3 separate regions of the Homo sapiens genome follow, and regions 2 and 3 are each linked to region 1. Evidence: promoter capture Hi-C in 16 types of primary human blood cells and fetal thymus (Javierre and others, 2016). All regions are on one chromosome and are shown on one strand. Each heading gives the region's core, a stretch centred on a gene start or on the middle of the fragment in contact. The rest is flanking DNA. Distances are from core to core; before and after follow the strand shown. Region 1 holds the start of FBXO38 (F-box protein 38). Region 2 holds the start of LARS1 (leucyl-tRNA synthetase 1). Region 3 holds the start of RBM27 (RNA binding motif protein 27).

Region 1 (3,406 bases), core at 486-2,985:
CTTTAGAATTTAATTAAAAAGTGGGGATTGAAAATTAAAACAACACAGCGGTTTAAGGTCATTTACTGTAGGGCAAACTTTCCTGCAGCGCTCAGGGACCCCATGATGGTGCCACTGTACAGGAGAAATACTAACTCAGGACCTTTTTAATGAAAACCTGTAACATCAAGGTACAAATAAATCCTAGAGATGAAGGGATACATATAACATGCTCTACCTGAAAATGTTAAAACTAGTTTTGATATCTTATTATATATAACACTCATAGCAGTGAGAAAATATCTTTAACATTTATTACAATGATTTGTGGTAGGAAATTTTCTAAACTTGAGGTAGGAAACCTTTCTTACTCATGAGTATTCATTTCAGGTCCCACTACAGTGCTTTTTACAAAAGGAGGAATGCTAATAAAATGAAAATCATATTCCATTGAATTAAAAATTCAGGCCAATTGTGCTGAAATAAATCTTACTGAATGCCTTCTAAATATGCCATGCCCTGCACTAGAAACTTTCGTAATTCCTATTTATTCTTCAGAATAACCTGGGAAACAGAAAAAGCTAAAGTCTGTTTCCTTTATTAAAGTTTGAATATGAAGAAACCGACAGAAGCAAATAGCATAAAAATTCATTTTTGTCTTCAATTACAGGAAGAATGTAACATGAAAGCTGAGATTACAATGAATAGTACATGAATATGATGAGGTTTTGTTTTGTTTGTCCTACCAGAGCTCCAAATAAAAACACAGATATATGGTTTGACATACGGAATGGGATAGCTAAAACTGTGACTGCCTAAGACAAGCTGAAACCTAAGGTGCCGAACCATATTGGGGAAAGAGGGGAAAAACCAGTAGGTCTGCTATCAATCAAGAAAAGAATAAGAAGAAATGGGATTCCCAAGCCTTCTTCAGCTTTTTCTTCTCCAGCAGAATAGCCTAGTCAATGCTACGTCTTGTCAAATTGTGTCTCACATGGCTTTAATGCACACTAACTTTCCTAAGAAGTATTTGTATCTATTTAAATCTAGGGATTTTAGCCCATATTAATTACATGTATATTAGGGCAAGAACACAGGATGTAAAAGGTAAAAATCTGAATTTCAGTCCATCTGCGAGACATTGTGAAAATCAATTACACTCTCTGAAGACAATTCCTTATCCATTAAACAACAGAAAAGGTGATTAAGTTGATCCTTGCCTACATGTCAGAGTCGTGTAGAGTTTTTAATGACACTCATGTGAAATTCCTTTGGACTGTAAAATACTATTACTTACGTGCAAAGATAATGTCCCGAAATCACAGAAGGGATGACTTAACATTAACATCTTTAACTGCGCCCCCGTCCTTCCTCTCAAAAAAAAAAAGTTCTCTATTTTTAGTTGAATGATTCTGGGAAAATCTCTATTGGAACCTATCGACTTCGCAAATGACAAAGGCGAGGTCCAGAGACTTATCCAAGACCCCAGAGTACCAGTGGAAATCAAGACCAAACCACACGGTGGAGACTGGTTCCGACGTATCAGACTCAGTGCTTCCGGCATGGCGCTTTAGTGTCAGGTGAAAGAACAGCAACCCGCCCCGCTTCTCCACCCCTGACAAGCCTTCCGAAATGCCACGCTGAACATGGCTGCCGCGCTTCGATGCTTCTTCACACACACAATATGGACACGGGTTTGAGGCTCCAGCCCCGGATGACAACACTCCGGAAATATGCGAGCGGCGGCGGAAGCGGAAGTGCCTCAGCGGTAGGGGCCGGGGAAGTGTCTGTAGCGTCCCTCCCTCTCAACCACAATAACAGGCGGAGGGTCGGCGTAGGTGAGGCGGCGGCTGAGTGGGCCTGGGGACCGGGAGCGGGGTGGCAAAGCCCGGAGTGCGTGCGGCAGGGCTGAGGTAGCTGGGTGGGGATTCTGGAACTTCCGACCGCTTAAGCTCGGCCTCTGGCCCCCTTGGGGCCTAGAGCTCCTTGAGAGATCAGGGGTTGAATTTGTAGTTCCTGGCCTTCTAGGCCGTGCTTGCGGGGGTTGCCTGCTTGTCTGAACCTGGCCCCAAAATCCAGCATAAAGAACTCTCTCTGGGCCCCAGTTTCCTCAATGAAATGGGTGAGGGTGTTGGACTGGACAGCTTCTGTGACTGTCTCCCACCCCGGGCGTCACGAATTTCATGATTTTAATGTTAAGTCGGTGTTTCGGCCAGTAAAGTGAAGGAGGTCTGTGTTCAGCGTAGTGAGGAGATGTCCCTGAGCAGGAAGCAGTGAACACATCTTTGGCTGCCACGCCTGAGTATCAGGAGCCCTGAATTCTAGTTTCACCCCTTCCACCTACACACCGTGTGACCTTGTCTAGGTCCATTAGCTTTTCTGTGCTGCAGTTTGCTTATCTGTGTTGGATGCCTTTGATGTCCGTGCCCTAGCTGTGGAAATCAGATTCTTAACTCCCTTTTCATGGAGTCTTTACAGACCTGAAAAGCATATTCTCCCTGCACTCTGCACACCCAGAATTTGACTAAGAGATGTCTACCGTGTTTCTTTGCAGACACCAAGCTGGCCAAGGGCAACTGGTCACTTAGGAAGGTTCCTGTGCAATGAGAAGCTCTGTCCAGAAAACTTTGTTTTATACACCTAAACCAGCAGTGTAAATCACTACAAAGTGAAAAACAGGAGACCTTGATTTTTGTTCCAAAGTTGCTATTAACTTGATGGTTTACTTTGGCCAAATCCCTTCCTCTCTCTGAACTTGAGATTTTTTTATCTGCTAAAGGAAGACGTTGGATTAGGTCACTGGTTTTTAATCCCCTTTCCCATTCCCCCAGCACAAGTGAAGGATAAAATAATAGTTCTATAAAGCCATGATTTTCCCAGGGAAGGAGGAGGTCCAGTCTGGAGGGTATGTATTACATAGGCATAGACTGAAAAAAATCCGCTTGTAATTTTTAACTTTCATTTTGAGAATTAACATTTTAGATTATCTGTAAGCCTTCTTTCCCCTCTTTAAAATATGTGATGCTGTAATTCTGATGTCCTCCTTGGGTAAAGAATGTAGAGTTTTGTGTGCCTCTTTGTTTAAATGGCTGTGTGCCCAGAGGTACACACTTTATATTTAGTCAAACAGATACTAATGCATAGCAGAGGAGAAAAAGGGACAACTAGATTCCAGTAAGATAGGGTGATATAGTGAAGTAAAATTGGTGGTATACTAAAATGAAATAAGGTGGTATAGTGAAATAAAATTAAAAAGGAGTTGAAGACCTGTATCCCTGCTTCACACTGGTACATCCTGCCTCTGTGACTTTGGACAAGCCATCTAACATCTCTAGGCCTCACTTTCCTTATCTGTAAAACGAAGGGTTGAGCTGGATGATTCCTAGGCCTTTTTCAGCACCATCATCCTGTTGGGGGGTTTTTGTTT
Region 2 (3,406 bases), core at 622-3,121, 2.2 Mb before region 1:
ACTCAACCTCCTCACTGGTAACAAAAGGCTATATAACTAAATCAGAGTTCCTAAACTTTGGCACTACTTACACTTTGGGCCAAATAATTCTTTGTTTTCAGGGGTTGTCCTGTGCACTGCAGGATGTTTAGAAGCATCCCTGGCTTCTACCCGGGATCCCTGCTTTTCACTTACACTGTTGCCCCTGCCTGGAAATCTCTTTCTTCCTATAGTTGCATAGGTTGCTCTCTTACCTCGTTTTTGCCACCTTTTTGGCAAAGCCTTGCTTGATCATCCTTTTAAAAATTGCAACAGGCCAGGCGCCATGGCTCACGCCTGTAATCCCAGCACTTTGGGAGGCCGAGGCGGGCAGATCACGAGGTCAGGAAATTGAGTCCATCCTGGCCAATGTGGTGAAACCCTGTCTCTACTAAAATACAAAAAATTTAACTGGGCATGGTGGCGCGCGCCTGTAGTCCCAGCTACTCGGGAAGTTGAGGCAGGGGAACCGCTTGAACCTGGGAGGAGGAGGTTGCAGTGAGCCGAGATCGCGCCGCTGCACTCCAGCCTGGCGACAGGGCAAGGCTCCGTCTCAAGAAAAAAACAAACAAACAAACAAAAAACAAAAAAAAATAAAACCAGGCGGGATGGCTCATGCCTGTAGTCCCAGCACTTTCGGAGGCTGAGACAGAAGGATCGCTTGACCCCAGGAGTTCGAAACCCTGTCTCTACTAAAAATACAAAAAATTAGCAGGGTGTAATGGAGCACGCTTGCAGTACCAGCTGTGGGGAGGCTGAGGTGTGAGGATCGCTTGAGCCCTAAGGTCCAGGCTGCAGTGAGCCATGATCACGCCACTGCATTCCAGTCTGGGTCACAGAGTGAGAACATCTCCCAAATTTAAAAAAATTTTTAAAAATTGCAACTGTACTACCCCACCGTACACTCCCTAGCACCCCTTCCTGCTCTATTTTTTCCCCACAGCATTTATCAGCACCTGACACAATATTTTACAATGTATTTTACCCACACACATAAACACTATGAAAAGAGAGATTTTTGTCTGTTTTACGGAGAGGCGCTCAATTTTTTCTTTTTTTTTTTTTTTTTTTTTTTTTTTTTTTGCTGTAAGTAGGAATCAACTTACATACTCCTCTCTCCACCTCGGCTTTATTTGTTTGTTTATTTATTTATTTTATTTTTAAGACGGAGTCTCACTCTGTCGCCCAGGCTGGAGTGCAGTGGCGCGATCCTGGCTCACAGCAGCCTCCCTCTCCCGGGTTCAAGCAATTCTCCTGCCTCAGCCTCCCGAGTAGCTGGGTTAACAGGCGCGCACCACTACGCCCGGCTAATTTATGTATTTTTGGTAGAAACGGGGTCTCACCATGTTGGCCAGGGTGGTCTCGAACTCCTGACCTCAAATGATCCACCCGCCTCGGCCTCCCAAAGTGCTGGGATTACAGCCGTGGGCCACCGTGCCCGGCTCTCCACCTCGATTTTAGAAACTCCAGAGAAATAACAAATATGATATCCAAGTACTCCGTAAAGTTAACAGACATCAGTTCGTGGTTCATAAACTAGCAAGAAAAAGCAAAGTCTCTACGAAAGGCACGCCTTAAGCGTGGCTCTCTTTTAGAAAAGGACTTTCCCTTCAGGACAGCACATGGAGAGCCCCTAGAGACTGGCCAGTCCGGCTCCAGGGCCCCTGCGGATTCTTCTCGCTCAAACTCACCGCCATTGCACCGCCCAGCCGACTGTGCAAATCCACGACAATGACCCTGGCGACCTCCACAAAGGAGTGGTTACCTTTCCCCTCCCTCTCGGGGATGCCAGGCCTCCCACGAAACTAAAGCACACGCTTCACACCTGCTGAGGCAATCATCCGGCTCCTTACTAACTACAGCCAAGGCATCTCACAGCCCGCCGGGAATTGTAGTTCCCAGACCACCCGAGCAGACACCCAGCAGGCGCTAACTGACTACAATTCCCAGAGAAAAACGGGTTATCGGAAGTCTACCCGATAGGCCCACTCAGAGGGGAACCGGCAGTGACGTCACTGGCATGTTGAACTACAAAGTCCATGATGCAGTGCGGGATCGCAGAATGCCGCGAGTGCGCCCTGGTTAGGTTGGAGTCCCTTGGCCATCAACCTTTTCACCCGGTAGAGCTGGTTGCCTGTCGGGATGCCAGGATACGCAGTTAATTACTATACGGTGACTGAGGTGCTACTTATGGCTTGCCACTATGCACAGATATTTTTTACTGTCAGTGGCATTCAACAGCCCAGCATTTAGACATTGTATAACCGCGTATTGACAATCTCCTTTTTTTTTTTTGAGACGCAGTATCGCTCTGTCGCCCAGGCTGGAGTGCAGTGGCGCGATCTTGGCTCAGTGCAACCTCGGCCTGCCGGATTCAAGCAATTCTCCTGCCTCAGGCTCCCGAGGAGCTGGGACTATGGGCGCGCGCCACCACACCGACTAATTTTTTGTATTTTTGGTAGAGACTGGGTTTCACCTTGTTAGCCAGGATGATCCCGATTTCCTGACCTCGTGATCTGCCTCCCTCGGCCTCCCAAAGTGCTAGGATTACAGGCGTGAGCTACCGTACCTAGCCAACAATCTCCTTTTTTTTTTTTTTTTTTTTTTTTTTTTTTGAGAGGGAGTTTCGTTCTGTCTCCAGGCTGGAGTGCAGTGGCGCGGTTTCGGCTCACTGCAACCTCCGCCTCCCGGGTTCAAGCGATTCTTCTGCCCCAGCCTCCTTAGTAGCTGGGACTACAGGCGCGCGCCACCGCGCCCAGCTAATTTTTGTATTTTCAGTAGAAACGGGGTTTCACCATATTGGCCAGGATGGTCTCGATCTCCTGAACTCGTGATCCGCCCGCCCCAGCCTCCCAAAGTGATGGGATTACAGGCGTGAGCCACCGTGCCCGGCCAACAATCTCCATTTTTAAGCAAGAGACTGAAAGCCTACCTGGTCCCATTGCCTGACTCAGACTATTTAGACCACTACCAAACAGGGCCAGGGGCGGTGGCCATAATCCCATTATTTTGGGATGCCGAGGTGGGCGGATGACCTGAGGTCAGGAGTTTGAGACCAGCCTGGCCAACATGGTGAAACCCCGTCTCTACTAAAAATACGAAAATTAGCTGGGTATGGTGGCGTGCACCTGTAGTCCCGGCTACTCGGGAGGCTGAGGCAGGAAAATTGCTTGAACCCAGGAGGCAGAGGGTGCACTGAGTCGAGATCGCACCACTGCACTCTATCTTGGGCGGCAGAGCGAGACTTCATCTCAAGGGAAAAAAAAAGACTGGTCGGGTACGGTGTCTCACACCTGTAATCCCAGCACTTTGGGAGGCCGAGGCAGGTGGATCACGAGGTCAGAGGTTCGAGACCAGGCTGGCCAAGATGGTGAAACCCCGTCTCTAC
Region 3 (3,406 bases), core at 499-2,998, 2.2 Mb before region 1:
TTTCACCATGTTGGCCAAGCTTGTCTGGAACTCCTGACCTCAGGTGATCCACCCGTCTGGGCCTCCCAAAGTGCTGGGATTACAGGCATGAGTCACCGTGCCAAGCCCCCCCTTTTTTTTTTGAGATGGAGTTTCTTTGGCTCTTGTCACGATCTTGGCTCACTGCAACCTCTGCCTCCTGGGTTCAAGCGATTCCCCTGCCTCAGTCTCCCGAGTACCTGGGATTGCAGGCGTGTGCCACCATGCCTGGCAAATTTTGTATTTTTAGTAGAGACTGGTTTCACCATGTTGGTCAGGCTGGTCTGGAACTCCTGACCTCAGGTGATCCACCCGCCTTGGCCTCCCAAAATGCTGGGATTACAGGTGTGAGGCACCGCGCCCAGCCTGGCCTACATTTTTAAATGGAGAAAAAAATGAAAAGATAATATTTCATGGTATGTGAAAATTATATAAATTTAAAATTTTATATAATTTTAATAAATGTTTGTAATACAGCCACAATCATTCCATTTACATATTGTCCCTGGTTAATTTTAAGCCAAGACATTGTATGACGAGTAGTTGCCATAGATACCTCAAGGCTCACAAAACCAAAATATTTAGTATCTGATCCTTTGCAGAAGTTTGCCTATACCTGTTCTATGTATATATAGGATGTCTGTTTATTTGAGGTTGATCCATTTCTTTTATATGAGGTGCGTGCTCATTAGGTATTTTTCAAAATGTTATTACAATGCATAACCCCATAAACTGTTCATCATCTTAAGAGGAGAAGCTCTGTTTTGCTCAGCATTGGACTCCTAGTGCCTTACTCAGTGCTGGCAATTGCAGGGACTCAGTATATGTTATTGGGTAAACATTTTAACATCAGTGCTAAATCAGTGATTTCAAAACTCCAGAAAGAATTTCTCACCTACTAGAAAGTAAGTTGACTATTTCAGTAGTTTCTAATTTGTCTTAAAAATTTTTTTGTAATCCTTCTTTGCTGATTAAAATTCTCCCTTCCCGTCCCCCAACCACTGAATTTTAGATATACAATGAAAAGATAATTAAAAACAAACTATTGGAGTCATTTTTCTTCCTAAATAAAGCAACATTTATTAATAGTACTAGCAAAATTGAAATGGCCTCAGCCTTTTACATCCGTGCGCCACGTTTTAAAAATGACGATTACTGGATTCCAAGGCATGGTTGTCAGAAACATTCTGCGTAATTAAAGCAGAGCAGCAGAAAATACAAACGTGAGTGCCAATCAACATGAGTGTGTAAAGAAAAAAAGTAAAATTTTGCATTCTGTGCAATGTGTCGAACGTGAACGTATTGCACGTTGTGTTGCAGATTTACTACAGCTGAGTCATTTCGGGACACGAGTGTGTGTTTCCAAGAAAAACGAGAGGAAGGAACCAGGCTGAGGGGCTCGCCGGGTTCCCCCAGGCACTCCCAGCAGCAGACACCGGTATTCCGCGGCGGGCGGCGGCGTGGTCAAAAAAAGGCGCCGCTGCCCCTTTAAGAGGCAAAGCACCTTTTCCAAGATACCATCTTGCACCAGGAGTTCACTTAAGCTCTCCACCTACCTTGCTATATCTCTCCTCCCTGACTGGGTACCGCCTGCCGGCGGGGCGAGCGAGCCTTTTCATTGGTCTTGCCCTCAGGGCCCCCTCTCTCTTACTGGTTCTCAGGCCTGCCACTCGGCACTGTCTCCCGCCCACCTCAGCCTTCGGGCTAGGTTGAGTGAGGGCTCTTGGGTTAGTTCCTGTTAGGCCCCGGCCGGGGGAGTAGGTTGAAGTCTCCTAAGATGCCCGGTGGGCTGGGGCACCGGGAGCTGTGAAGGGAACGTGAGGGGGCGGCGTAGTGGAGACCCACGGCAGGCCTGAAGAAGAGCGGCGGCCGAGCCCGCCTTCCCTGCACCATGCTCATAGAGGATGTGGATGCCCTCAAGTCCTGGCTGGCCAAGTTACTGGAGCCGATGTGAGTGAGCCGGGCTGGGCCGGGGCCGGCGAACGTGGGCGTTGGGGGCTCGCGGGGGCGTGGGGGAGGGGAGGTGGCGTGGGGGGCGGCGCTGAGGGGCCGCGGCCGGGAGGTCCCGGCGACGCCTTCCCTGTAGTACTATCACCATTGTGGTGGGGGTGAGGGTGGGAGAGGAGCGCTGGGGACGGAGAGGCGCCGTGAATATGGGGACTGGGGGGGCAGGCAAGGACAGCGAAGGCTTTTCAAACGCAAATATCGGGGTGCTGGAAGGGGTAGCAGGGGCCGTGAGGGAATTTAAAACATTGCTGTTTGAGAACTGAGAGAGAGGTAACGGGGCTCTTGAGGGATTTTTAAAATGTGAATATTGAGATGTCGAAGGGAATAGCAGAATATCAAGGGTTTGATAAACATTATTATTCCGGGACTGAAAGGTCTAGAAGCAAAATATCGAGGGCATTTTCGAAATATGAGGGCAGAAGCGGATAGCAGGGACATTGAAACTGTATAGCGATTATTGGTAAGTTCTGAGGGATCAAGAATATTGAAGGATTTGAAAAATACTATGGAGTAGATGAAAAGGATGTGTGGGCATTGAAGGGTTTTAGAAATTATTGGGGAGGTGATAAGTGTGATAGCAAGGATATTAAGGGATTTTAAAGTATTATTGAGGGCTTGATAGTGCTAGGGGAACTGATGACTTTTAGATACATAGAGGTTGGAAAAAAGAGGTTTCTGTAAGTTTAGTTGAAGGTTGAAAGGGCTACACTGGTATGCAGCATTAATTGGTGGAGGAGTATACCTAACAGTATGTAGGGATTTTTAGATACAGGTGGTGTTGGAGGAATAAAAGGAGCGGTAGAAAGAATAAGAGATTTGTAAGTATTCTTGTGCCATTGAGAGGACAGTTTTGTAAATGTTTTTGTAAGATTGAGAGGACACCTGAAGATAATTGGGGTGTAGTATGAGGGACCGAAAAGAATGAGAGACCTGTCTTTTAAAAATATTTTGGGTGGTGTTAGTAGAAATGTTATTGGGAGGCTTGAAAGAGGTAACAGATGTATCAACATTTTGTTTTATAACCTTTTTTTTTTGAAACAATGTCTCGCTGTGTCTCCCAGGCTGGAGTGCAGTGGCTGGATTTCGGCTCACTGCAACCTCCGCCTCCCGGGTTCAAGCGATTCTCCTGCCTCAGCCTCCCGAGTAGCTGGAACTACCGGCGCGCGCCACCACGCCCAGCTAATTTTTGTATTTTTAGTAGAGATGGGGTTTCGCCTTGTTGGCGAGGCTGGTCTCGAACTCCTGACTTCAGGTGATCCGCTCGCCTTGGCCTCCCAAAGTGCTGGGATTACAGGCGTGCGCCACTGGACCCGGCCATGTTTGATAACCATTTTAAAGGGTAGAGTTGTGGAGTGCTTATTTGGGGGAATGGGGTATGGCT

What was found. Contacts are between HindIII fragments. The CHiCAGO score rates a contact against its expected background, and 5 or more counts as called.
Region 2: the fragment with the promoter of LARS1 here is called in contact with the fragment with the promoter of FBXO38 in region 1 in 3 of 17 cell types (total CD4 T cells, fetal thymus and naive CD4 T cells); the score reaches 7.2 in total CD4 T cells.
Region 3: the fragment with the promoter of RBM27 here is called in contact with the fragment with the promoter of FBXO38 in region 1 in 1 of 17 cell types (naive CD8 T cells); the score reaches 5.3 in naive CD8 T cells.

Annotation. Positions count from the first base shown.
Region 1 is chr5:148,382,223-148,385,628 of GRCh38, forward strand. It overlaps FBXO38 (F-box protein 38), which reads left to right and starts at 1,736. Exons shown (of 22, transcript NM_205836.3): 1 at 1,736-1,817. It overlaps FBXO38-DT (FBXO38 divergent transcript), which reads right to left and starts at 1,628. Exons shown (of 5, transcript NR_105057.1): 1 at 1,277-1,628. RefSeq lists an enhancer at 1,513-1,712. The HindIII fragment of the contact is 17,680 bases long and covers 1-3,406 here.
Region 2 is chr5:146,180,779-146,184,184 of GRCh38, forward strand. It overlaps LARS1 (leucyl-tRNA synthetase 1), which reads right to left and starts at 1,872. Exons shown (of 32, transcript NM_020117.11): 1 at 1,710-1,872. The coding sequence starts at 1,715. RefSeq lists enhancers at 1,396-1,555, 2,464-3,310. The HindIII fragment of the contact is 6,101 bases long and covers 1-3,406 here.
Region 3 is chr5:146,201,857-146,205,262 of GRCh38, forward strand. It overlaps RBM27 (RNA binding motif protein 27), which reads left to right and starts at 1,749. Exons shown (of 21, transcript NM_018989.2): 1 at 1,749-1,968. The coding sequence starts at 1,910. RBM27-POU4F3 (RBM27-POU4F3 readthrough) reads left to right here and starts at 1,749. Exons shown (of 20, transcript NM_001414499.1): 1 at 1,749-1,968. The coding sequence starts at 1,910. RefSeq lists enhancers at 1,185-1,334, 1,805-1,964. The HindIII fragment of the contact is 5,706 bases long and covers 18-3,406 here.